4 separate regions of the Homo sapiens genome follow, and all the other regions are linked to region 4. Evidence: promoter capture Hi-C in 16 types of primary human blood cells and fetal thymus (Javierre and others, 2016). All regions are on one chromosome and are shown on one strand. The core of a region is centred on a gene start or on the middle of the fragment in contact, and the rest is flanking DNA. Distances in the headings are between cores, read along the strand shown.

Region 1 (6,998 bases), core at 1,562-4,061, 1.5 Mb before region 4:
GTATACTTGGACAACCTGTTCAGCTTAAATTCCTGTCTCACGCTTCCCTCTCTCCAAGTGCCTGATTCTAGGCTTGGACTGGAGGCTACACTCTGAGCCTGTCAGAATGGTCACTTTACAAGCTGTAATCCTCTATAAGAAATAAAGTGTCCTTTCCAAACTTATAGATCTCATTAGTCTTAAGTTGACAGGAAGAACCATAACAAAGTATTAAGCAAACAATGCTGAAAAGAAAAATTAATATATCTACAGCACTTTAACAAGCATCCTCTTGTTTTCAACAATAATCCATGTCTGGAAAACAATCATTTATCAATGTACTAACTTTTCTACAGCTGCTTACTCTTTCTTGAGCAAAAATCTTTAACTTTAAAATATATTTTAAAACTTTGCTTTTAGCTTTAATTGCCTATCCATTTGCCTCCATTGTAGGAATTATAAAAACACTCATTTTTTTCTTCCCTAAATGAGAAATACCTGATAAACTAAGGGTTTTCCTGTGTACTGGTGTGCTATAAAACAACTTCAGGCAAAGGATGATTCCAACTAGATATCAAATTCACATGGACTAAGTCTCCTGCCTGTGAAAGAATTTTTTGAAATGCCACAGAAGCAAGAGAGAAGGTGGTGGATCTGAGACTGTGAATAAAAACTGTAAAAAACTCCCAGAGACAAAACAACGGTTGGGTCACAATATAGAGGAAAAATGGCAGCTTAGAATAGAAGAAGGCAGGAACTGCAGACGGTGGAAGCTCTGTCGTTGTGTTTGTTTCTCTCTCTAATGTTTTCTGCCAATATAAATCAGAAAAACAGTATCATAAGCTTAGCCCTCGCTATAGACCACAGAGAAATGATACATGCAACTGGGGTGGGAAGAAAATAAAAGCTGAGGACAAACCTCTCCATTCCTCTCTACAGAGCAAGGATTAGTTATTTAGATTATAAAATTGCAGCACCCAGGGCAGAGGTCCAGGGAGGTACTTTGAAGGCTGTTATGGATTGAATTGTGTCTTTCAAACTATATATTTTTTATAAAGGCATCAAAATTTATATGTTGAAGTCTTAAGCCCCAGTACCTGAGAATGTGACCTTATTTGGAAATAGGGTCGTCATAGATATAATTAGTTAAGATGAAATTATACTGGAATAGGGTGGGCCTTTAATCCAATATGCTGTTGTCTTTATAAAAAGGAGAAATTTGGACACAGACATACACACAGGGAGAATGCCATGTAAATATGAAGGCAGAGACTAGGGCGATATGGCTAGAAGTCTAGAAATGTCAAAGATTGCCAGGTGATATGGTTTGGCTGTGTCCCCACCCAAATCTCATCTTAAATTCCCATGTGTTATTGGAGGGAACTTGTGGGAGGTAATTGAATCATGGGGGCAGGTCCCTCCTGTGCTGTTCTCATGATAGTGAATAACTCTCAAGAGACCTGATGATTTTTGAAAAGGGGAGTTTCCCTACACAAGCTCTCTTCTCTTTTCTGCCAACATGTGAGACATGCCTTTCACCTTCCACCATGATTGTGAGGCCTCCACAGCCACTTGGAACTGTAAGTCCAATAAACCTCTTTCTTTTGTAAATTGCCCAGTCTTGGGTGTGTCTTTATCCACAGTGTGAAAACGGACTAATACGCTAAAATGGTATGAGTAGAGTGGGGTGCTGCTGAAAAGATTCCCAAAAATGTGGAAGCGACTTTGGAACTGCATAACAGGCAGAAGTTGGAACAGTTTGGAGGGCTCAGAAGAAGACAGGAAAATGTGGGAAAGTTTGGAACTTCCTAGAGATGTGTTGAATGGCTTTGATCAAAATGCTGATAGTGATATGAACTATAAGGATCAAGCTGAGGTGATCTCAGATGGAGATGATTGATATGAACTATAAGGTCCAAGCTGAGGTGATCTCAGATGGAGATATTGTTGGAAACTGGAGCAAACAACTTTGTTACAAAGAGCAAAACTCTTGTTATCTTTTAGCAAAGAAACTATTGGCATTTTGCCCCTGCCCTAGAGATTTGTGGTACTTTAAACTTGAGAGAGATGATTTAGGGTATCTTGCAGAAGAAATTTCTAAGCAGCAAAGCATTCAAAAGGAGTCTTGGGTGCTGTTAAAGGTATTCAGTATTATAAGGGAAGCAGAGCATAAAAGTTTGGAAAATTTGCAGCCTGACAACGTGATAGAGAAGAAAATCCCATTTCAAGAGAAATTCAAGCCTGCTACAAAATTTTGCATAAGTAACAAGAAGCCAAATGTTAATCCCAAAGACATTAGGGAAAATGTCTCCAGGACATGTCAGAGGTCTTCATGGCAGCCCCTCCCATCACAGGCCCGGAGGCCTAGGAGGAAAAAATGGTTTCGTGGGCTAGGCCCAGGGTCTTCGTGCTGTTTGCAGCCTAAGAACTTAGTGTCTTGCATCCCACCCACTCTAGCCATGACTAAAAGGGGGCAAGGTACAGCTCAGGCCATGGCTTCAGAGGGTGCAAGTCCCAAGATTTGTCAGATTCCATGTGGTGTGGGTACACAGAAGTGGAGAATTGAGGTTTGGGAACCTCTGCCTAGATTTCAGAGGATGTATGAAAACACCTGGATACACCAACAGCTTGCACTGTGCACCTGGAAAAGCCACAGACACTCAATGCCAGCCCGTGAAAGCAGTGAAGAGGGAGGCTGTACCCTGCAAAGCCACAGGGGTGGAACTGCCTGAGACCATGGGAACCCATCTTTTACATCAGCATGACCTGGATATCAGACATGGAGTCAAAGGAGACCATGTGGAGCTTTAAGATTTGACTGCTCTGCTGAATTTCTGACTTGCATGGGGTCTGTATCCCCTTTGTTTTGGCCAATTTCTCCCGTTTGGAACAGCTGTATTTACCCAATGCCTGTACCCCCATTGTATCTAGGAAGTAACTAACTTGATTTTGGTTTTACAGGCTCATAGGAGGAAGGGACTTGCCTTGTCTTGGATGAGATTTTGGACTACGGACTTTTGAGTTAATGCTGAAATGAGTTAAGACTTTGGAGGACTGTTGGGGAGGCATGATTGGTTTTGAAATGTGAGGACATGAAAAGGCCAGGGGAAGAATGATATGGTTTGGCTCTGTGTCCCCACACAAATCTCATCTTAAATTCCCATGTCTTATGGGAGGGACCCTGTGGGACGTAATTTAATCATGGGAGCAGGTCTTTCCTATGCTGTCTTGTGGTAGTGAATATGTCTTTTGGTAGTGAATAAGTCTCATGAGATTTGATGGTTTATAAAATAGGAGTTTTCCTGCACAAGCTCTTCTTCTCTTATCTGCTGCCATGTGAGACATGCTTTTCACCTTCTGCCATGATTGTGAGGCCTCCCCAGTCACTGTAAGTTCTTTCTTTTGTAAATTGCCTAGTCGTGGGTATGTCTTTATCAGCAGTGTGAAAATGAACTAATACACCAGCAAACCACCAGAAGCTAGGGGAGAACTGGAACCAGTTCTTCCTCACATCCCTCAGAATGAAACAAGTCTTCTGACACCTTGATCTCGGACTTCTTGCCTCCAGAACTATGGGACAATATACTGTTTAAACCATTCTGTTGGTGGTACCTTGTTAAAGCAGTGCTAGCAAAGGTCAATGTTGCTGGTAGAAGTGGCAAGTGGACAATACCAAGATAAATAAGTAATCCTAGAGGCCCAATGTCCTGAGGCAGGATCCATTCTCCTCAGACTTACAGGAGGGAAACCAGGAGCTGAACTTTTGCCTCTCCTGGTAGAGATGATATGGTGAAGCCATTCATATTTACTAGATGCAGTAGAATGAATGGAGCATATTAAAAATATCTAAATAGATATAGTAAATATCTCAAAGGAGTAGTCAAGGGAATTTGTAATAAAGGCCAGAACAAGCACTTGCAAAGAATAACCAACTTGAAAATTAGGATGTGAGAAGTCTATAATGGAAACAGTGGACTCTTATCAAACCAAAAAAAAAAAAAAAAAGGAGAAGGAATGAAGATAATTAGGGTCTTTGTACTGTTTGGAGAAACGTAGAGTTAATGCTAAGTTTTAGAGACCCATATAGAAAAATAAACACAAGTATAGGTCTTAATAGTTAAGGGTAAACACTTTGAAAGTAGAATGAATGACTTTCATGCAGAAGACAACTTGATAACAGATATATAAGCAAAAAAATCCTAACTGATGACATTTTCTTTTAGCACATGAGAAATATTAATGAAAATTAACTAGGTATCCAAATAAATGGTCTAAATAAGAATAATTGTATGATTAGTAGATTAAAATATCTGATAAAATTCAAAATATATTTATGTTAAAACCTCTTAGCAAATTCAGACTAGCAGGGAATTTCTTAAACTTGATAAAATATCCATACCTAAACCTTACTGTAGGATGATCTTTAATGGTAAAATCTTTGATCATTCTCATTAGATCAGGAAAATAGAATGCAACCTTTTATTACTGCTACTGTGAATGTGGTTTTGGCTTTGGAGGTCTTGGGTGCTACTGTCAGCCAAGAGAAATAAAATTTAAAGACTGGAAAGGATGAGAAGAGTAACATAATTGAAGATGATATGATAATCTACACAAAACTCAAACCGTCATGAACTAGAATTAATAAGACATATCAGTAATATTTGCAGAGACTGTATCAAATGATAATAGTGTTTCTCTATACCAGCAACATCAAACTAGAACATATAATGGAAAATAACATAACATTTACAACAGCAATAAATCTCTAGCATATTTAAGAATTTACTTAACAAAATATAAGAGCTTTACAGATCATAATTTAAAGCTTTATTAAAGGAAATAGACAAAGACTTGAATATATGAAAATGCCATTATGTTAATGGGTGGAATGACCTAAAATTGTAATAGAGTCAGTTCTTTAAAAATTAATTTGGCTGGGCACGGTGGCTCATGCCTGTAATCCCAGCACTTTGGGAGTCCGAGGTGGGTGGATCACGAGGTCAGGAATTCAAGACCAGCCTGGCCAACATAGTGAAACCCCGTCTCTAATAAAAATGCAAAAAAATTAGCCAGGCGTGGTGGCAGGCACCTGTAATTTCAGCTACTCAGGAGGCTGAGGCAGGAGAATCGCTTGAACCTGGGAGGTGGAGGCTGCAGTGAGCCGAAATCGCGCCAGTGCACTGCAGCCTGGGCGACGGTGCGAGACTCCGTCTCAAAAACAAAACAAAACAAAAACAAAAACCAATAATTTAGAAATTAATGCAGTTTATAAACATCAGCATTTTAAAAATAAACTTAAGACTTATCTCAAATTTGTGGTTAATACTAAAAGTCCATGAATAGCTAAGTTAATTTTTAAAAAGAAGAGAAAATGAAAGAGAATTTCTTAGCAGATATGAAGATATACTACAAAACCATGGAAACAAAAACAGTACTATCACAGGAACATTCAACTATCACAATGAAATGGAACAGGAAATTCAGAAGCAGATCCATATATATCTAGGAATTGATATATGATAGAGGTGGCAAGACAAGTCGGTGGCTCAAGGACAGATTGTTAAGAAGTTGATATTGGGAAATAGACTCATATTAAGGAGAAAAATAAAGTGAGATCTTCATCTTATTCCATAAGCAAGGAGAGGATCTTTCATTTATTTCTTTTATTTTTCAGACAGGGTTTCATTCTGTCACCCAGACTGGAGTGCAGTGGCACGATCACGGCTCACTGTAGTCTCCACCTTCAGGTTCAAGCGACCCTCTCACCTCAGCTTCCTGAGTAGCTGGGACCAAGGCATACGCCACCATGTCTGGCTAATTTTTGTATTTTTTAGTAGAGATGATGTCTCACTCTGTTTTCCAGGCTGGTCAAGGGAGGAACTTTTAGATAATTAGAGACTTCAATGTGAAACATACAGCTACAATCTAATGAAAAAAATAGGAGAATTTTTGAATGGGATTAATACCTAGAATATACAAAGTACTCCTGCAAACCAACAAGAAAAAGGTAAGAAAGCCAACTCTGTCATCAAAGGACATAAGTAGGGGAGTCATAGAATGGGAAATTTAAATAGCTTAGGAGAAAAGTTCAACATCTCTCATAACCATAGAAATTCCCAAGTTAAATGGCAACATGACCCCACAGTACATCTATCAGATTAATGAAAATCATATTGTTGGAGGATATTTAGTTCAACAAGGATGGCAGGGTTGGAGAGGGAGAAACAATAAGCTTCACCTCTCAGCCTGTGGGAGCTGTGGGAAATGTGATCTAGCCCGTTGTTAACTGGATCAACACTCTGGGGAGTGGGCTGGCAAGCAATATGGCAGAAACCGGGAAGATAATATTTTTTAAGTTGTAAACTAAACAGGTTTTAATTAAAAATATAAACTTACAAAAATAGTGTTTTTTTGCACAAAATATCATGCTGGAGGACATAAAATAATTTATATCAATAGTCATGCGCACCTCAATGAGCAGCAGAAGTCCATATTTATTCTCCAGGCTATGTGGTTTGGAGGAACAAGGGTATCCTTTGGGTCAGACCCTCTACCTCCAACTTCAGTGCTCTTTCTACTGCACCACAGACAACTTGCTGTTGCTGTGAAAACCACTAGTGCCAGGAGACCGAAACCAGCTGCAGATTGCTCTTGCTAATGGTCAGCCCAGACTGAAAAGCCAGCCACACAGGCCTAAATAAAATAATACTTAAAAAAATTACTTGGGTTGCCATCCCAATGCTGATTGAAAGGTTTCAAAGATTGGATCTATTAGAGCAAACTGCTGATTCATCTTGTTTCTCTGCTGTTAACTGAGTTTCTAACATTTAGGGACATCCTAATCACTCCTACAGAAATAAAGGACAAACTCCTTGATTTCAAAATCATGGGAATACATTTTTTGGAGAGAGTGACCTCAGCTTCTTTTCCTTTTCTGAGGGTCCTATTATTCAAGAAACATGTTTTGATCCCCAGCTGTGTGCCAGGAAACATGCAAAGTGCATTACATACCTTGACTC
Region 2 (7,077 bases), core at 1,547-4,046, 1.6 Mb before region 4:
CATGGTGAAGGAGGTAGGAGGGTACAGTGCCTCACTGCCAGAGCCATCGAGTTAGCCTCGCTGCTTCTGCTCTGCCAGGACCATTCCCACCTTTTCCTGGAGAAGGCTGCATTTCCCAGAGCGCCACTCAATCTCCAGTGCCGAGGTATACCTGCGTTTCAGTGTTTCGCTTGTTTTTATTTTGTTAAACATTGCTCTCTAGAATTCTATAGACCTATCTGAACTTATCTGTCCTATAATTTTGGCTACAGTTGACTGGTTAATTATTTAGCAAAGCCACTGTTCTTTACCTATGGGTATCACCAAGAACTCTGACAGCTAAGTACATCTTAACTTCTGTCAGACTTTTGCAGTATTTCATTCCTTCTAAGCAAAACAGTCACTCTCATTTGTTATGCCAAACATCTACCTCTACGTTTTAAAAATAAGTATTTTTCCAATAATCCAAATATTTACTTTCTGAACACTGATTTCAGTTTTTAAGATGTCAATTAATCTTAGTTCATTTATCCCAATCTTACCAGGAAGAAATATCATTCAGTAAAAGTTTTTTAAAAATAGACACTTTGGGAGGCCAAGGCGGGTGGATCCCAATGTCAAGAGATGGAGACCATCCTGGCCAACATGGTGAAACCCCGTCTCTACTAAAAATACCAAAATTTGCTGGGCATGGTGGTGCACGCCTGCAGTCCCAGCTACTTGGGAGGCTGAAGTAGGAGAATTGCTTGAACCCAGGAGGCGGAGGTTGCAGTGAGCCAAGATCGCACCACTGTACTCCAGCCTGGTGACAGAGCGAGACTCTATCTCAAAAAAAAAAAAAAAGAAACATTTTACTATTATAGCATAAACAAGTGCTTAACATTAGAAGAACTATGTTTTGACAACTGTGAATTTTCTTTTTTTTTTGAGACAGGGTCTCACTCTGTTGCCCAGGCTGCAGCCCAGTGGCACAATCTTGGCTCACTGTATTTTTTATAGAGACAGGGTTTCACTATGTTGCCTAGGCTGGTCTTGAACTCCTAGGCTCAAGCAATCCACCCGCCTTGGCCTCTCCAAGTGCTACGATTATAGGTGTGAGCTACCGTGCCCAGCCGTCAACTGTGAATATGTAATATGAGGAAAATAATACCAATCATAAATCCAAATCAATTCCTCCAGCACATACGTACATATATATATACTTTTTTTTTGGAGACACAGTCTTGCTCTGTCACCTGTTGCCCAGGCGTGAGTGCAGTGGCACGATCTCGTCTCACTGCAACCTCCACCTCCACCTCCTGGGTTCCAGCAATTCCCCTGGCTCAGCCTCCAAGTAGCTGGGATTACAGGCGCACACCTCCACGCCCAGCTAATTTTTTGTATTTTAGTAGAGACAGGGTTTCACCGTGTTGCCCATACTGGTCTCGAACTACTGAGCTCAGGCAATCCACCCGCCTCAGCCTCCCAAAGTGCTGGGATTACAGGAGTGAGCCACCGCGCCCAGCCCCTCCAGCATATTTTTACATGATATCATCTCCTACCACAGAATTGCTCTGTGATCCAGAACTTAAATTCAGAAAAAGCATAGTATAAATTGCTTTTTCTTCACCCCTAAAAGAAAAAACACAATGTTTAATTATCTTCTAAGAAAGCTTATTTTAGAAATAAGAACCAAAGATTAAAAAGTATTAATTAAAAGTAATGAGTAATCATAAATATATTTATATGTTCAGTAATATGTCTAAATATATCTTTCTTAAAATAGCATTGAGCATTTAAAAATTTGGAAAGTAATACTGGTTAACTGTTAGGAAAATATGAAACATGCATATCTCCATAGTCTTAAATAACATAAAACTTTAGTAAACTTTATTAAGGTTACACTAAAATATTAAATAAGCTTATTGAACAGAGACACACTCTTGTACCAGGCCAATTAGTAATCAGCTTTTCTGGGACTCAATCATACAACAGCAATTCTGCCTTCCTAAGTCAAACATTAAGTAAAGAACCATTTCACACAGTATATTCAAGTTTTTAAGATGTTTGAAAAAATGTTTATAGTCTCATTTAGAGGAGTAAAGAGTAGAATATTTACACATGTATAGATGGAAAACAGGTATAAACAAAGGAGTGACTTTTTCCAAGGTCATAAGGTTATAAAGCAAAGGATTACAAATGAGAATAGAATATCATTAATTTGACAGTCAATGCTATATAGGCTTTCCAGAGACTTCTTTTATGCAAGTAGTCCCCAAATTGGAGCACAAATGAGCTGCTAGGATTGAATTTCAGAGCGTAAACTAAGTTAAAGTTAAAAACTGTCAAAAGCCAAGACACTGAACTGATCAAAAACCAAAATAAGTAACTTTTCATTGTTCGTTTGGTCTATATATACTAATTAAGTAAAGCAAGTGAGAATTTTAAAAGCAAAGCAATAGTTTGTCAGAAGTAGCTAATTTTACTTTGTATCTGGTTTGTGGTTACTCCAAGTAATTTCCCGGTTTTATTATTTTTATTTTTCTTTGTGAACAAATTAATTGGCTCTAGATCATAATTTTAGAATCAGTCACCCTTTAATCATCCATTTGGTTAAGTTTGGGGCCACTGGGATAACTATGTGATATAGGTGAAGACTGGTTAAATGAAAACATATTTTAATAAAAATGTATTTGTAAGAAGAAACTGACAAATTTTCAGTTACACAAAGAATAAGACATAGGTAATATGAATAGTTAAAACCTTCGTCCCACTCGAAATCTTTTAAGGGTATTGCTAAAAATTCAGTTGACTTTTCTGGGTTTCATTCTTCCTGCCTCTGCTCAATCTCTAACAGAGGTGAAGCAAGAAGAGGTCTAACCATGGTTAAAGGGAGAGGAGAGAGGCAAAAGAGATGGATAATAAGTTGAAGTTTTAGAAGTCCAGAGTCACTGTTAAAGAAGAAAGAAATGGGTCCATGGCACTGTTACCAGTAGAAACAATATGTTCACCTATACCCGACTTCAGGCTTTCTTGTTTTACAAGCAATACCTATCCCCATGCATCTCCAACACCTGCATTACACAGGTACTGTTTCACCTGTGCTACCCTCACAGGTGCTACCCTTATTTACACCAAGCCTTCTGTTAAGTCTCCATGGTGACTAGAAGCAACCTAGATGCTTCAGATACTGAACTATCTAGTAGTGGCATTATGAAACAGAACCAAACTGATTAGGCAAGCAGTCTAAGCAAGCACAGAGTTTACAAAGCAATTCAACAACCCAACCAAGCCAAAAACACAGATTTCCTAATGCTTAGTCCAAAGTTGATTTGCTGTACTTAGATTCCTAAATAAAAATATGGCTATACAGAAACTCTCCTACCTAGGACTTCTGCAGATGAATCAAGTGGGGAACAAGCACAAAAACATAACATTGATTATTTGGTTTTATGTCAAAAGGAACAACAGAAGTTGGTAGTATTTTCAAGGACAGGAAGAAAATACAGAAGAGATCAATCTGCAGTTCTTGATAACCACTACATCCAGAGTTCAAGGCCAGTAACCACATATGCAACAAGGAAATACACAATGACCATTCTGAGAGAGCAAATAAAAACAGGAATGATGAGTGGGATTCCCAATTCTAACTATGTTAAAAGGTGTAAGTACTCGCATCTGAGACATGCGTCAGCCTATTGCCAGGCTAAATATAAGTCAGAACGGGAGTTCTGAGAACGAAGTGATGAGGAAAAGAAAGCTTAGACTTAATGGAGACACATGTTTAGTATAATACAATATAGAGCATATACAGCTATTCATACAGACAAATATACATATCTAGTTTCTAAACATATAAATCAACAAGGAGAGATATAAAACAAAAAATGAACCTCAGACACCACGTTTTATTTTATTCAGATGGAAAGAGTTTGGATAAGTACCTAATATGTACATTCATTTAGGGAATTCTAGGCTGTTGGGACTGATCAACAAATGTCTTACCTGTAGGAGCCCTAAATTCCTTGTGAGAAATGATAAAGGGAACTTTGGAACTGACTGATGGTTCAGCCACCAAGACACTAAGATTATGACTTTCAAAAAGAAAAGCCAAAGGTTGCCTTAACTTGCAGGGGGATCTAGATCTCAAGGGCAGTGGTGCTAGACTCTCAGAGGCACACAAGAATATAAAAAAATCAACAAGTAATACCTTAAGTCCGAGCATCTAGCCGTGGAGGACTAGTTTGATTCAGGGAGAAATGCTATCCAAATGACTCCAGGTGCTGCCACTCAAAGGCCCTCTGACCCAGGCCAGCTCCTAGGGAATCGTTTTTAAAAATTCTTAAAAGGAGGGGAAGGAAGGATTACAGAGCAGGGGAAGAGGGCAGCGCTAGACTTAGCAGCCTGGGCATTGAAGAAGGACTAAAATAATTGTTTCTAGTGGGGAAACCTCTAACAAATATGGTTATCGGAGCTACAGACTGGGTGCTAGCAGTGGCAGGAGCTATGTGACTAGCAGAGCAGGGACACCAGGGGAAAAGAAGGAGGGGCTTATGTGGAGGCTCAGAGAGAACACTGGCCAGTGGCTCCAGCTGAAATACTCCTGGAATTTGGAATTCTCACCTAAATCCTGATCGCCAAGGCTAGTGTGACTTGGTAAAGCAGGAGTGGCCACTGACATCTCCTCACACAAAATCAATGGAACTGGGGAAAGAACAAGGACTACCCCAACAGCTAAACCTGGAGGCATCTCCCTGATAATGACTTCCTGCAACTATGGGTTAAAAAAAATCCAGCCTTAAACATGGTGAACCATGTTGGTGAAGAATGGATACGTGGTATAATGAAGTCCATGGAAGTCCAGGTATCCAGTCCCAGAAAAAGCCAGGGAAGAAGTGTTAAGTGATACTGCAAGCTCAAGATCTGTGCTCATCAATAGGCTTCAAACAACTTCATTTCCTCTCCACGCAAACAACAAAAAAAGGCTTTTAAAATGGTGGCTTTCCTGCAACTGAGAAATGTTTTAAAGAAAGTATAGTGAAGCCTGGCTACATCTATCTCTATTTACAACAGAGTGCTTTTAATATTCAAGTCTAAGTAAGTAAACAGACAGTTGAGAGATTTGCTATTTTGTCTTACTGAGATCCTGCCAATGAAGAAAGTAAATACTCTTGAAAGCAAATGTTTAACTGAGAACTAAACCAAATAAAGTATGGTTGAGAATTTTTAAGTGGTTAATTGAAAAAGACCAAACAAGACCGTCTGTAATTTTCCAAAAATATAGACTGCTTCAAATAGAACCTACGTCCAGTTCTGGGAATCAGCAAATCAATTAGAATCGCATCTGATCAACTTTATGCCCCTTAAGTAGTTTTAAAATTTCAGTACTCAAGTACAATCAATGATGTAATCAGCCTCACAACTTAGTTATTTGCATGAACTTCAGGAAATAACGGCTAACACAGCCCCTTTTGGACAACAGAAGTAATTTTTTAGTTGGAAGAAATTTAATGGAGTTATGGTTCAGTTGCTGTTTACAGCTTGAGAATTAAAACGTTGGGTTCACTCTATATTCAAGAAGACATCCATCTCAAAACCTTTTTTCATTTAAAACTAATCTGTAACTGCAATATGAATACAAATGCAAGTTTTAAAAATTCTTTTAAAATGAGAATAAAAACCTACAGCTTATAGAAACTGTAACATTGTAACAATACGTTTAAAACTGGTCATTGAATGTAGGATTCATAAGTACACATTTTCTCATCTAGTAATTTTTTTGGCATAAGTTTCAGTTCAGGAAAAGTTCAGATGCAACATTTTATGGAGTGTTAAATATTTCTGTACTGGGCAAAACTACTGAACTTCATGGTCACTACCACACCGTCAGCTGTCTGTGAAAAATCTACTTGCAGGGCAAGTTAACAGGTTTCTATGGCTCAAGTTTGCTTAAAATACAGAACAAAAAAAGTCACCTTGGCATGAATATAATTAAGAAATCAGCCGTGTGCTTCTCACGTTTGGGCTCCGAGACGTGGGAGATGCCCGCTAACCTAAGACCTTCCGAGGGCGATGCAAGGACCCGGACAGAACTTTCCCGGCCGCAGACCCCTTCTAGGGCACACCTGGCCTGGCGCGGCCGCGGGGGCCTCGGGGCTGCGCGCGCAACCCGCCCGAGGAACTGTCAACGGCCGCGGAGCCTCGGCAGCCTCGGCGGCTCCGCGCGCCCACAGCCTGGGGAGCCCCGGGAGGCAACGGCAGCCGCGCGGCTCGGGGGCCGGGGTTCCAAGGCGCCCCCGCCGCCCTCGGTCCCCAGTCCGCCCCTCGGAGCCCGCCACGGCCTAGCGCCGCCCGCCTCACCTGTGCGGCCCCGGCGCCTCTCCCGCCGCCGGTCGCTCTCGTAGAAGCCCAGCGTCTCTGTGAGCTGAGGCGCCGGCGGGGGCCCCTGTCCGCCGCTGCCGCCCGGCTGCTCCGCCTCGCCGCGGCCGTCCCGCTGCGGGCCGTCCACGCCGCCACCGCCGCCTTCTCCCGGAGCGGCCGCGTCGCCGACGCCCGCCATGTTCCGAGCACAACAAACTGTCCCCGCCGCCTCCCTCCAGCCTCTGCCTCCGGCCGGCCCCCTCCCCGCCTCGCCCCGCCCCTCGCCGGAGCCCGAGCCGCCGCCGCCGCCGCCGCCATCCGCGGCCCGCCGACCGGCGCGAGCCATTGGCGTCAGCGACGCGTGTGAGGCCGCTGCCGCCGCCGCCGCCGCCACGGTAGCCGCCATCTTCTTCCTGCCCTCGCCGTGGCGGGCGACGGTTTCTCGCGCCGTGGCTGGCTCGGCCGGCCGGGGCACCGCGCCGGGCTCCATGCAGCCGGGCTGCGCGGTCCCGCAGAGCGGGCGCCTCCGGGGCTCGAGTCGGGGACCCGGCAGGAGCGGGCCGGGGATGGCGGCGGCGGGCGGCGGGTCGGCCGTGGAGCCCCGGAGAGGCGGCCGCCACCACCGCTGCCCGCAGTCTGCGAGGTGTCCGGCGGTCCGCTCAGGGCCTCTTTTGCAGACTCGGTGCCCGGAGTGCGCCGGCGCCGCCCGCCAGGTCTTGGCACTGCTGGCGCGGCCGCGGCGGCGGGGGCCCGGCTCCA
Region 3 (7,271 bases), core at 2,517-5,016, 1.6 Mb before region 4:
GACTGGAATATATATTGAGTTACAATATTGTTTATGTTAAAAATATGCAAACTGATCACTAACTTTAACACAATTTCATGTGCACTGAAACTTGCTGCACTCAGAAGGCCTTATTCTTAATTCCAGGACCAGCCTCCTAGTGTTTATATTTCTCCTCCTTTCTTGAGTACTTGCCATACCCTTTCTTTTTGTGGTATCATTAGACACTCTTACTTGTTAAGTTTAGGACTATATTTCACAGAAAGAGGGTGAAGTCTTTCGAGGACTTGGCCAAGTAGCCACCACTAGGCTAACAAACTCAGCTACTCATTTTAAGAGTGGCAACTTTCTGTATGTCTGACACACAATTATGGTATGATACATATGCCCTCACCACAGCATCCATGTATCTTTAGTCAATAAATTGCCCTGCCTCCACAGATTAAAATTCATAGTTACAGGCTGAACTGTGTCCTCTCTATCAAGTTCCTATGTTGGAACCTCAGAATGTAACCGTGCTTGGACATAGGGTCTTTAAAGAGGTAATTTAAGTTCCTATGTTGGTACCTTAGAATGTAACCGTGCTTGGACATAGGGTCTTTAAAGAGGTAATTTAAGTTTAGGTCATTAGGGTGGGCCCTAATCCAGTGTGACTGGAGTCCTTATAAAAGAGGAAATTTGGACACAGGCACAGACAGAGGAGAGATAATATGAAGACCGAAGAGGAAGGCAGCCATCTGCAAGCCAAGAAGAGGCCTCAGAAGAAACTACCCCACTGACACTCGATTGCACACTTCCAGCTTCCAGAACTGCAAGATAATAAATGTCTGTTGTTTAAACCACCCAGTCTATGGTACTTTGTTATGGCAGCCCTAGCAAACAAATTCACATGTCTTTAAATGAAAGAATACACTTTATTAATTTTTGATAAAAATATCTCAAAAATATGCTACACATAATATTTGCCAGATTTCTTAATCTGAATATATAGGCCCTTTTTTTGTTTTTAACAATTTAGACTCATTATGAACAGCAGTGAAAATACGATGCTAGATTAGCATAGAGTCACGTGTGGTAGATTAGCGTAGAGTCCCAGTGTTGCATGTTTTCTTGTCTTACACACAAAGCAGTACAGCAGGAGGCTGAGCAAGGTCCATATAGATAGAGTTCATGGTCCTTTTCTATTACTCTCCTATCACTGAGAAGCCTTTCCGTCCTTGCGAGTGGACTGCTGGTTCAGTACTGAGGGCAGAAACTGCCAGAAACCTGATGTTCCCAGGAGCGTTTGTGATCCACTAAAAAGTTGCAACTCAGTCTGAAAATCAGGTCCCGGATAGGCAGCCAGGCTGAAATTTAGTTCCTTCCTAGGCAGCTTCCAAAGCACTGAAGACAGTTCAGCTCAAACTGACTACAGAAAGCTTTGCAGAAGAGTATACGAGTGGGAACACACTGGGAAGTTCTTTGTGCAAAACTGAATTAAAAGTACTGAGTTACAAACTGCAGACATATAATTTTAAAATATTTTCTAAAATTCATTCTCAGCAGCGATTTATCAAAATGTACATGTTTCAAAATAATCTTTTGCTTAATTAATATCTTCAGGTACTTCTTTAAAATAAAAAGAGTTATAAGTGAAAACAATAAAAGGACAGAAATGTTCACCAGGCTCTCTGTCTCTGAGAGATCTTTTCTGGAAGGACTTCAGAAGCCTTCTACAGGTTCTGGGCAACGCAACCGGGCACTGGCCAGGTGCTGGGCTTGGGCCCTGCCTGTGCATGGCCGCAGTCTAGTACCACCCACACTCTGCAGTGAGACAAGGAGTTGGCCTGGGTTCTTGAGTGGTGGAGGCAGAGCCAGGACTTCACTCAGTCTGCAGAAAACTGAAGCACTATTTCTACTAATGACACTTTCACTCATCCTTCTGGCCTCACTCACCACTGGATTTACCATTATACACATTTTAAAATAAAGTTTAACATAAGTTTTTAACATCTGAACTTTAATGCTAAGGAAATTACAAAATGAAAATTATCCTGTGACATTGTAAGTAAACAAAATATTCACTTGTGAAAATTTCTACAACCTGCTCTTATCATATTTATTTTGAACCTAATAGTACTGCACTTAGCATCTGAAAAATACCTGCCTCAAGAGAAATAAACAAGTAAAAACGCCAGCCTCTTTCTGTGGGGAATGAAGCAGGGTTTCTTCACCTTTTAAAAAATCTACGTGTCCCTTTATGACAAAAATCTCCTGCCCTTCTTTTAGCACCATTTGAAATTTCAAAATAAACAAAATGTTATGGCTAAAATGAAAGAAGCATAATGATTTTGCAATATATCTCCTTGAATTACACTAACCATCTTCTGGAAATTCTGAATACCATCTCCTCCACCACAACCACCAAATACCACCTGCTAGTCGAGGATCGCTGGTCTAGGGTGTTAGAAAGTAGGAGTAAAGAGGCTTAGTCTCACTTTTATAAAGCTTGTGCTAAAGCTCTGGGTCTACTCCTGTAAAAGCAGAGACCATATCTTGCTTAATACTGCACTGGGAGGAAAGACATCCTCTCCAGGGAATTCACAACCCAGTGAGCTTGACACAAACCGCATGCTAAGTGCCAGATGAATGATGTGCTCTGGAAACACAGGTGAAGAGCCTGGGTCTGTAAAGCGTGTGTATTTGGGGGCAGGTGAGAGTGGCATGCACACCACAGGGAAGGAGGTGCAAGAGATAGCAGAGATGTCCCACAGAGGAGAGAAGACAGGCACTAGATTTTGCCAGGCAGTAAAGAGGACCGAATTTCAAACCAAGGAAAGAGCATGCACAGGTACAATGTGAGTAGCCTCCTAGTGGTGAGGTTAGGATATAATCATTATGCAAGAGGCATAAAAATCACGTTCAGTTCATTGCTAAGGAGCTCAAATTTTCATTCTTAGGTTCCAAGGTATCCTTGTCTTTTGACTGTTTTCACTTATAGCTCTTTTATTTTAAAGAGGTACCTGAAGATGATTAGGTTATTTTGAAACATGTACATTTTGATAAATCTCTGCTGAGAATGAAGATGTTCTCAATAAACTCACATATAGGGATCAACAATCAGCAGAATGTTAAGGGGAACAGGATATCAATAAGAAAACTATAAATGACTGACTTTGAAAGCAATTACTGCAGATTCAAGGTCATCCCTACAATAAAATCATTTTAATCATCCGAATTAAAAAATTCATGCCCCAGAAAGTCTATACTCTAGGAGATGGCCAACAAAGGGATTATCATGAGCCAAGTTCTCTTACGATAGGCAAGCTATGTAAGCATATGCAGCCATGGAAAACAAGTCAATTGATTTTAATTTGTAGGACTATGCACATAGAATGATCCTGAGACTTTCTTGCTTCTCTTACTTCCAATCCATGTTGAATACTGTTATATTTTAAGCACGTGACCCACATTAACTTGATCCTCACAACAACCCACCAGGCAGGAACTATTACTTGGTATTTTGCTTGCTACAGACAGGGCTTAGACAGGGCTGTGGTGCTCCTGCTGAGAGGCTGGAATGATGCAGCAAGGCAGGAGTGCCCTCAGGGTCCCAGGGCAAGACTGAGTGTCACCTAAGGAACAGAGGTCTTAGCTGCGGCTCTAGGCTCTGATCCTACACCTTCTATCTAGGATGAGATCGACTTTCTAGGGAGTGGTCAGCACGAAGCACCACAGCAGGCTGCAGTGAGCAGAGAGGACAGTACGGAAGGAGAAGAGCCATCAGTGTGAATGATCACAGCAGCCTGACATAGGACAATGGAAAGACAGAGAAGAGAAATTTAAGACTGTTTCCAAAGCTGAAATGAGAGAAATAAGTGATTGATTCACAAAGATAAACATGGCCCCATGGTGCCAAGTTCAAAAATTATCTTTTAAATACATTAATAAATGTGCTAGAGGCCTAAAGGCTTTGCTGGCTTGTCTTAGAACTATCTGATGAGTCTCATATGCCCAACCTCCCCTGAGAAAATTAAGAATGGTAAGACAGTTGCAGAAAGAACGTGGAAGCTGTGGTCACTACCACCACAAGCAGGGTGTGACAAGCCTCGGAGAGAAGGGGAGAAGCACCAGCCAAGGCTGCTGAGATTCTGAGACATGTGGATCCCTACTGGCTTTCCTGCTTCTCAGCAGCCACACAGCAGGGGCTGGGGGACAAGGAGGGGGAACATCTGCACAAGGGTGTGTCACCAGCAAGAGCTGCATTATGAGAAGAATTTAGAGGGATGATTCTCTGAACATGTTTTTATGAAATCAGAAACTGACTAGGATGCCCAAGAAAACACTGCCATAAATATGGGTCTGAGTAAATACTCTCTATTAGTTTCACAATGAAATCCCAGGACTGTTTTACTGAAATAAAGGGGAAACAATAGTCATTACGTTTTCTTAACATATCCTCACACTGACATAAAACAAAAAGGCTTTATATGACATTTGAAGTCCGTTCGTTTGAAATGAACTTTTGGATTATTTTTTCCTAAATGTTAACCCCACCACGACCTTCAAAAAGGCAAAATTAAGTTACTCCACTAGACATTTAAATCTTTCCATCTACCCTCACCATTCCTCACAGGCAAACTCATTCAATGAATCATGCACTATTAGACCTCTTGAGATGACCTAGGTACAACCTTCTAATCATAGAAGAAAGTAAAACCCAAGAGAGATCTGATGCCTTGATCAGGCCTCAGCTATTACAAACAGACTCAAGAAGCTAAGGTTGTTGATGCTTGATTACAAATAATTCCCCTGTATGACAGTAACCCTTCCCCCTTTCAACAATAATAGTCTATGCCTAGTAATAACAATATATCAATACTTACACCTTCAATCTGACAAATTTAAGGCTTATAAAAATTTGCTACATTGGTAAGAAAACTAAGTCATTCTATTTAAGCAGTTGAATTTAATTTTTAGAAAAATGTATTAAATAGCTATAATGTACAAGGCATGGTAACAATGAAATAATGAATTGCCAAAAAGCACAGAATTACAAGGTAAAGAAAAGTCAACAGAATATTTTCATTTTAGTTTAACCAGATATGCAAGCTTACATGAACATATATAAACACGGAAAAGAATATTGCTAAAAGGCTTCATGATAATCCACAACATACATCTGACATATTTAACCCAAGAAATAAATACCATGAGAGGGGAATAAGTAAATCAAATGAAGATTTTAATTTGTAGAATTAAATTATGTAATTGTAGAATTAAATTAGAATTTTAATTGTAGAATTAAATTATATATTAACTATATTCATGGAAGGATCTTGAGCTCTCCCTGCTTGTCTCATTTCCAGTCCATGTTGAATATGACTATACTAATTTTCCAGAAAGAAAGCTCTGACGGATGGCTAACCCAATAACCATTCTCAGTTCTTTTCTGTTTGTTGGAAAAGCCTAACATTCACTGTCCTAGCCTCCTTTGCAGCTGGGAATGGCTATGTAGCTCAGTTTGGACAATAAGACAGAAGTGGAAGTATTCCAGGCCACGTCTGGGAAATCTTTCAATCTTTATAAAAGGCATAGTCAAAAAAGTGGCAATGCCCACCCCATTTCTTTGTTTATAATGCAGATGTAATGCCGAGGTTGCAGCCGTCATCTTTCTACTAGAAGACAACAAGCAAGAGGACCCAAAGCCAATTTGCCAAGGATGGCAAAATAGAAAGATGAAAAGGACTTGGGTCCGTGACAGCTTCATTAATCTGCTGCAACAACTGAGACCTCTTTTCTTCTAGATTTGTTGAAAAAAATAATTTCCTACTTGTTTAAATGACTGTTAGCCAGCTTTTCCATTCTATACAGCTAAAAGCATTCCTAAGAAATATATATTTAATAGTCTCCTTCCATAGACTCAACTCTAAACTCTCCAGCCTGACCATTCAACATAACTGGATCTAGCCTATCTCTTTTTTTGAGATAGGGTCTCACTCTGTTGCCCAGGCTGGAGTACAGTTGCATGATCTTAGCTCAGAGCAACCTCTGCCTCTGGGGCTCAAGCAATCCTTCTGCCTCAGTCTCTCGAGTAGCTAGGACTACAGGCGTGCACTACCACTCCTGGCTAATTTTTGTATTTTTTGTAGAGACAGCGTTTTGCCACATTGCCTAGGTTGGCCAGTCTATCTTTCTTTCCAGCATGTGTCGGTGGTTTCCTGTTCACACCTAACAATTTTCCACCTCTGGATCTTCCTAGCATAGCCACCCCATCCTACAAAGCATATACGACAAAATCTCTCTCTTTTTCCTTCCTGGATCCTCGTCCCAGGTCTGTTGTCTAGGCACACTTCCCCTTCTCTAAATTCTTCATATTTTATTTGTACTATTTAAAAGCACTTGTCACGTTGTATCCTGTATTATAATAACTTATGGATCTGATATCTCCTAAGCTAGGTGTGAGTCTTATCTCTGTATTTTGCACTGCAAAAGTGCCTTCTTGGAACATAGAAAGTACTCAAAATATAGATGGAGCAAATTAATAATTAAGTGTGTAAGTGATCTTTATCTTTCTAAATTTGAATTTAAACATAACAGGAAATTTTAGAAGATCCTATAATGTGTATTTCTTTACTATTTACTGTAGCTTTAGATTCACAAAGATGACAAAATTAGTCCTTAGACAAGGGACAATTTTGTACCTGATGCATGGTAAACTGTTCCTAGGGGACCTAAATGGAGAGCATATACTACTAGCACATACCTCCACCAAACAATGGTGGAAGGAGAGATCTGTCTGGAAGTCAATGAAGAACTGCCACCGTGGGGTGGACAAAGGAATTGGAGCTTTAATAGTATATATATCTTGTGAGGCTGTTGAATGGATTGAACGCAAACACATGTAAAATGCCTAGGACAGTATCTGACACCTAATCCTTACATAACAAACATTATTTATTATTCACACAGAAATGGATACAAGAGGTGGGATGTAAGTGTCCAAGTCAAGGTGGGGTATGGGACAGTGAGAACTCACTCACCAGGAATTTCCTCTTTAGGAAACTGGTGCTCCCTGCCCTTGATTTCACCAAGCCTCTGGTTAAAGCACCCTGTTTCTGTTATAACTGTAGGCTTCAGGCATGTGCCCATTGAGGCCAGACTCTATAGGGCTTGGCAGAAAATGTCAGGGTGTGTTATCATCTCTCATGGCCATTGGTTATGTTCTTCATGAAAGAGATCAGCTTTACCCCCAGACAGCCTAGGTAAAAGGAAAGAGGAAAGAAGACAGCTTTCCCTAGAGGTTTTTTCTG
Region 4 (6,701 bases), core at 1,332-3,831:
TTAAGAAGAAACAATGTAATACTTCTAAGTTTAGATTATAGTACTATTACCTTGTTCAATCTGAAAAAGAGTATTCATTCTTTGTCGTGGACCGTAAGTCTTTATTAACTGAGACAGGAGAAGCTGTTGGCTTTTAATTGTGCTGTCCTCTAATATTTTTACTATTTTCACTTCAACCAGATTGCACCTGTGAGATTACTAATTGGCTATACTTCAGTTATTATGTTACTCAGAAAATTTTTAAAAAGGCTCTTACTTTCCCATAATTGTTTTTGTTCTGTTTCACAGTACAAAAGTCAGGAAAAATGTAAGCTTTAAGGCAGTATACTATGTTGTTTAAATTTAATCTAGCACCTTTGAAAAAATATTTTCAGATTATAATATCAAAAAATACTGAACCAATACCCCCATGGCTTTAACCATTAAAACAAAACAAAACAAAAAAAAAAACTAACCGAAATATAGTTAGGCTGACCTCTGGCGGCCAGATGTCTCATTCTTCTGTAACTGACAAAATGGTGTGATGTCTCTGTTGGTGAGACAGCCAAATAGAATATAGTAAAGAAATACTAGCCGGGCGCGGTGGCTCACGCCTGTAATCCCAACAGTTTGGGAGGCAAAGGCGGGTGGATCACCTGAGGTCAGGAGTTCGAGACCAGCCTGGCCAACATGGCGAAACCCCGTCTCTATTAAGAATACAAAAGATTAGCCAGGTGTGGTGGTGCATGCCTGTAACCCAGCTACTTGGGAGACTGAGGCGGGAGAATCGCTTCAACCCGGGAGGCAGAGGTTGCAGTGAGCCGAGATCGCGCCATTGCACTCCAGCCTGGGCGACAGAGCAAGACTCTGTCTCAAAATAAAAATAAAAAAATATATATTAGAAACGTCACAAAGCAAAATTATGGGCAACACAAATGTTACCACATTCTTAACTAGCAGCTGAATATCTACAAAGTTTGAGGAATTAAGCAGGAGAATGGATAAGGTATGGCATATTAATACAATGGAGTACTATAGCAACCTGTCTGTGCCGTAGTTTCCTCATCTTAAAAGAAGATCAAAGTTATCCTACAGGGTTTGTGAGCAGTAAACGAAGTAAAGTGCTTAGCATGGTGTCTGGCACATAATAAAGGTTAATTAAGTGCAAGTTACTATTATGAACATATCAATATGAACCACAGCAATATTGATTGAAAAAAGCCAGATGCACATATAATTATTCATTTAACGGTTAAAACATGCAAAATAGTACAATATCCTCATTCAGGGATTTATTCATGTCATTAATATATTAAAATATGTCATTAAGATATAGAAAGCTGCATGGTAAAAGTTAACAGTAAATTCAGAAAATCCATTACTTCTTCGGAGGGCAGGTAATTCAAAAGGAGAAAGATGTACAGGTGGCTTTAGTAATGTTCTATTTCTTCAGCTGGCAGTAGGTTACTGAGGTGTAGGAGAGGGAAAAACGGCTTCCCTCCATCCTCCTAGGTTCTTTGGCTGGGTTACAAATTAACCTGACATAGACATTAACAAGAAAAAAAACCCGTACTTAATTACATACGCAGAGGAGTCCCACCATGGTCAGATGATTGAATATTATACAGCATCCTACGCTACTCAAGAAATGGGGGCTTGCGGCTTTCTGGGGGATGGTGGCCACAAAGTTGTGGAAAGGTGAGGGGAGGAAATATACGGTGAATAAAAGTTGTCTTGGTATGCAGATAAGATCTCCCAGGTAACAAAAATTATCGCAGAGCTGCCCTCTTTCTGATACAGATCCTTTACTGATGTATATTTCCTCTGTAGATGTCAATTTCTTTTACAACAGGACAGATTTTCAGAGCGACTCCTGTGTCTGCATTTTATCAGAATACCAGCTCAAAATATACTCTAGAAGTATATTGTAGGGTGGCATATTTTGGTCTCCTACAGTCCTATTTTTGGATGGTGCATCCTGAGATCCAACAGAAGTTCTGTCTGATATAATTTCATTTAAAATTTAAAAACCTAGTTCCTACTCTTCTTTATTTTAACCACTACCCGAAAGACCTTTCCATTCTCTTGAGTTCTCCCTTAATACACTGTCCTTATGCACACTTGTAAACAGGGCCTACACAGCTGCACATCTAGAAACGGCAGCAGCTAAGTTAGCCCGCACCCCCCTTCGCAACGATCCCCGGACTGCCTGCACGCCCTGTGGAACCTCGCAGTCGGCTTCACCAGGGCAGGGACTAAGGCCTTCAAAAGACAGCATCCGTCTCCACTAACCTCGGGTCGCCCCGCTCAGCGGACCCAGCAGCGTCGTCTCCCTTCTCAGAGGTGGCCGGGCCTCCGGAACGCGCTACGAACTTTCCTTTGTCGCCGTCTCTCGAAGCGGAGCCCTCGTGTGGGGATCCCCCGCCCTTCGGCCACAAGGGAGGTTGTTATCCTCGGCAGATCTCCCGTTCTCACTCTTGGAGGATCGCTTTTTCTTTCTAGCCTCACGCTCAGCCGCACGACCCAGCCAGGCCTAACGCCAGCAGCCCTTCCCCTCCGGTGGCAAGGCCACTCCGCTCAGCTCCCGCGCCGACGCTACTTCCGGCCGAGTCAAGGCCCCTCCCCCTTAGAAACGCCACTTCCCTCCGTGAAAACGGCTGGACAAGGTTGAACCTAGACGCATGCGCCCAAAGCGCGGGGTGCGAGGTGGGTGGACCCATCGCTTCCCGCTCTCTTCTCCCAAAGCGCTTACGGCAGTCTCGCGGGATTTCCCCCTCTCGCGGGAATTATTTGAACGTTCGAGCGGTAAATACTCCCTGGGGCTGTCATAGAAGACTACTCGGAGAGCGCTGCCTCTGGGTTGGCGGGCTGGCAGGCTGTAGCCGAGCGCGGGCAGGACTCGTCCCGGCAGGGTTCCAGAGCCATGGGAGCGGAAAGGAGGCTGCTGTCGATTAAGGAGGCCTTTCGGCTGGCGCAGCAGCCGCACCAGAACCAGGCGAAGCTGGTGGTGGCGCTGAGCCGCACCTACCGCACGGTAAGCGCTCCCGGCCCCGGCCGCCGCCTCTCGCCCGCCCCGGCCCACCCTCCCTCAGGGGCCCTCCGTGGCCCTCGGGCTCGGCGCACCGTGACTCCAGCCTTGTTCACCTTCGCGACTCACTTCATAGGGATCTGAGGTTCGGAGAAGTCAGGGACTTACCCGAGGTCGCCTGGGCCCAGGCCAGAAAGCCTCCGAAGCCTGGGCGTCGTTCACACGGGCCCCGCCTTGGCTTTTCTGAGCCGACACCCCCAGCTTCTGGGCGGCGTGGACCGTTATTCCTTAGTCCGATCGTGAACGTGGAGAGAAACATTTACGACCACCGAGGCGATCAGACATCAAATATTGAACCGCAGAGTGGATCCTGAATGCGGGGGTTCAGTGGTCGTTGCCCCTGGGGTCATCGCTCCCCGCCGAACATCAAATGATTCTACCCTTGTCCTACGGTTACGTTGAATCCAATCACCAAATACCAAATTATTTTTAGGGCCTGGCCATTCTTATTTATGTACATACTATTTGTTTGTTTTGAGTGGAACCTTGAGAAGAATAGAACAATTAATTTGGGGAAGATGAATTATCTTGAGGTCCAAGAAAAATTGTGAGTAAACATCACAGGGCTTTGAGGATATGAGATAGGATGTGCAAGTTATCTCATAAAGAAACTGCTGGTGATAGGAAGGCCTGAATATGAGAAATATAAAAGCCAGTATTGATTTTGGGTTGTTGAAGAAGCGTATTTGTAACGTACTGGTACTAAAGGCTTATTGAGAATCAAAGATATTGAAAAAAATATATCAAAGGAATCTTTTCACTGTCAAAAGTCAAGCTTGTGTACTCCCATTATAGCCTGGAGAGAAATTCATGCAAATTGATTGCCCTTTGGCTGGTTTGGATAATTAAGAGTTTACTAAATAAATATTTTAATTTGTCTGCATTATTATGGCTAGTGCTTTCATCAGTCTTAGGGTGATGTTGGGAATAAAGGATTTTTATCGGTGCAGTTTATGAAGGGTTTCTTTTGTCTTTCAGATGGATGATAAGACAGTTTTTCATGAGGAGTTCATTCATTACCTTAAATATGTTATGGTGGTCTATAAACGTGAACCAGCTGTGGAGAGGGTAATAGAATTTGCAGCAAAGTTTGTTACCTCATTTCACCAATCAGATATGGAAGATGATGAGGAAGAGGAAGATGGTGGCCTTTTAAATTATTTGTTTACTTTTCTCTTAAAGGTACTATGAAAATGATAGCTTTGGGGAGGGATTTTAGAAAATTTTGCCACTTTAAAAGAGTCGTGGGAGTTTGTATGTTTTTGACAATGAAATATCTAGTGATTGAAAAAACCTGAATGAGTCTACCTTTCATAGGAAATATTAGAATTATCATTATGATTAAAAAGTGGACTTTAACTCCAGCATTAAATTTTTAATGACCTCTTTAAACCAGTTCTCCTTTGTTTATTTTAAATGAGTTCTGTATTTTAGAAGCCTCTACAAAGAGGACTATGTAACTTAGCAAAGACTTCTTTCAGACTGTTCATTTTGAGACTGTATAAAATATATATATTTGCTATACATATGGACCAAGGTAGCATTATAGGTTCTCTTCAGGAAATGAATTGTTGTTGTAACTTCTTGCATTCCGAATGTATAGAGTTCAGATAATATTGATTATTTGGGAGTGGTATGTGACTATGAATAAATTTTGATTTGTTTCTGTTTTAGTCTCATGAAGCAAACAGCAATGCAGTGAGATTTAGAGTGTGCCTGCTCATAAACAAGCTTTTGGGAAGTATGCCAGAAAATGCTCAGATTGATGATGATGTGTTTGATAAAATTAATAAAGCCATGCTTATTAGATTGAAAGATAAGATTCCAAATGTGAGAATACAGGCAGTTCTGGCGCTTTCACGACTTCAGGATCCCAAGGATGATGAATGCCCAGTGGTTAATGGTGTGTGTAGTTTCCTAAATCTTTTTTCAGATTTGTTGATTTTGTTAAATTCTCAGTATTTGAAATTTTTTATTATGGTCTATACATTTGAAGAGTATAGGTAATTAATATATGATTCCGATTAAACAAAAAAAACCTAAGTAGCAACCACCCAGCTTAAAAAAAAAAGTCAGTACTTGCATCCTATCCCAGTTGCATCCCTGTCCCTCAGAAGTAACTATTAAATCCTCAGTTTGGGGTTAATTAGTCTCTTGCTTAAATTAAAAAAAATTTTTTTGCATAAATCACATATGTCTATCTTAATGTTTTCCTGTCATTTTGTGTAAATCATGCTGTATGTATATATTTAGCAGCCAATTATATTTCTATATAATACCTGTTACTGTGTTTTGCCCATTTTTTCATTGGGTTTTTAATTTAAAATACTATTTTAAAAAATTCATTTGCATTCTTTATATATTTTGAAAAGAAATCCTTGGGTTATATGAATTGTAGATCTCTTCCTGTTTTAGGTGGCTCATTGGGGTATCATTGTTTCACTCCCTTTGGGGTATCTTTTTTTTGAACAGAAATTCTTATGTCAAAAATATAAATCTCTGCCATTATGATTCGTATTTTTTAATCTCTTTTTTAAGGAACTTTTTCTTACCTATGGGGTCATAAAGGTAGTTGTATTTCATTTTTCCATATATGCCTAGGTATGTTTTAGGCACTCTTCTGTCCTTTTTGTCCCTATTACCAGTTTTATAATCACTGGTATATTTATCACTATAGTAGTTGGTATTTTTTTTGGTGTTAAAAGATACCCATAATAATATTGTGTAAAACATAGGTATTTGATAGTCAACCTGTACTTAATAATTGAGGTAGGAAAGATGTGAGAAGTACAGATAAATATATTTAAATATAAGAAATGGGTTTGTTTCAATGAATAAAACCAAAAAATATTTCCTTTTAGGTCTCATTAAAAACCAAAATAATGGGCCCTTATAAAGCCATATCAGTTTAAAATAAACTGTCTGCTATAGTAAGCTTTCTCTTAAATATTGAGGAGTAGCACAGACATAATCTTAATGATGAATTTTCTGTGACTTTTAGGGCTATTTGTTTTCACTTTTGGCCTAAGAGCCAGTCCGTTGACTAATTCCCCCTTGTGTCTTTAGAAGGGAAGTTGGTGGCCTGCGCAGCAGTGACTCAGGCCTGTAATCTCAGCACTTTGGCTCCAACCTGGGCAACATAGTGAGACCTTGTCTCCAAAAAAAAGAAAAAGAAGGAAGTTGGTGGGAAAAAAACTTCAACTAAAATATGTGAGACTAAAAAAATGACATTACTTTCTATTACAGATGGGTTCTCACTCGGGCTGGATTGCAGAGGTGTGGCCTCAAACTCCTGGGCTTAAGTGATCCTTCCACCTCAGCCTCCTAAGTAACTGGAAGCGCCACTACCATGCCTAGCTAATTTTTTATTTTAAAATTATTTTGTAGAGACAGGGGTCTTTCTATATTGCTCAGGCTGGTCTTGAACTCTTGGCTTCAAGCTCTCCACCTACCTTGGCCTCCCAAAGTGCTGGTTATAGGCAGTAGCCATCATGCCCAGCCTATCTTTATCACATTAAAGGCATTTTAAAATATCAAAATGTGTGTTATTTTATGACTGTAGTTAAATAAATAATTTCATCAGTACTAAAATGTATTGCTTTATTTTTAGCATATGCTACTTTGATTGAAAATG

What was found. Contacts are between HindIII fragments. The CHiCAGO score rates a contact against its expected background, and 5 or more counts as called.
Region 1: a fragment that was not itself captured here is called in contact with the fragment with the promoter of DCAF16 in region 4 in 1 of 17 cell types (M1 macrophages); the score reaches 5.7 in M1 macrophages.
Region 2: a contact is called between a fragment that was not itself captured here and the fragment with the promoter of DCAF16 in region 4, in 8 of 17 cell types (non-activated CD4 T cells, fetal thymus, total CD4 T cells and 5 more). The highest score is 11.3, in non-activated CD4 T cells.
Region 3: a contact is called between a fragment that was not itself captured here and the fragment with the promoter of DCAF16 in region 4, in 1 of 17 cell types (naive CD8 T cells). The highest score is 6.1, in naive CD8 T cells.

The regions. Positions count from the first base shown.
Region 1 is chr4:16,281,869-16,288,866 of GRCh38, forward strand. It overlaps LOC124900674 (a long non-coding RNA gene), which reads left to right and starts at 5,218. Exons shown (of 5, transcript XR_007058064.1): 1 at 5,218-5,986. The HindIII fragment of the contact is 3,982 bases long and covers 821-4,802 here.
Region 2 is chr4:16,219,941-16,227,017 of GRCh38, forward strand. TAPT1 (transmembrane anterior posterior transformation 1) reads right to left here and starts at 6,531. Exons shown (of 14, transcript NM_153365.3): 1 at 6,319-6,531. The coding sequence starts at 6,517. It overlaps TAPT1-AS1 (TAPT1 antisense RNA 1), which reads left to right and starts at 6,723. Exons shown (of 3, transcript NR_027697.1): 1 at 6,723-7,077. RefSeq lists silencers at 6,084-6,463, 6,574-6,623, 6,634-6,733, 6,744-6,813, 6,874-7,073. The HindIII fragment of the contact is 1,839 bases long and covers 1,878-3,716 here.
Region 3 is chr4:16,202,939-16,210,209 of GRCh38, forward strand. All of the region lies in intron 2 of TAPT1 (transmembrane anterior posterior transformation 1), which reads right to left. Among named protein-coding and RNA genes, the nearest start is that of TAPT1, 20 kb to the right of the region's middle. RefSeq lists a silencer at 2,868-2,917. The HindIII fragment of the contact is 2,604 bases long and covers 2,465-5,068 here.
Region 4 is chr4:17,808,176-17,814,876 of GRCh38, forward strand. It overlaps DCAF16 (DDB1 and CUL4 associated factor 16), which reads right to left and starts at 2,582. Exons shown (of 3, transcript NM_017741.4): 1 at 2,272-2,582. NCAPG (non-SMC condensin I complex subunit G) reads left to right here and starts at 2,804. Exons shown (of 21, transcript NM_022346.5): 1 at 2,804-3,013; 2 at 4,046-4,249; 3 at 4,742-4,970; 4 at 6,678-6,701. The coding sequence starts at 2,903. RefSeq lists enhancers at 351-500, 2,120-2,209, 2,251-2,762, 2,330-2,489, 2,763-3,275. The HindIII fragment of the contact is 3,530 bases long and covers 311-3,840 here.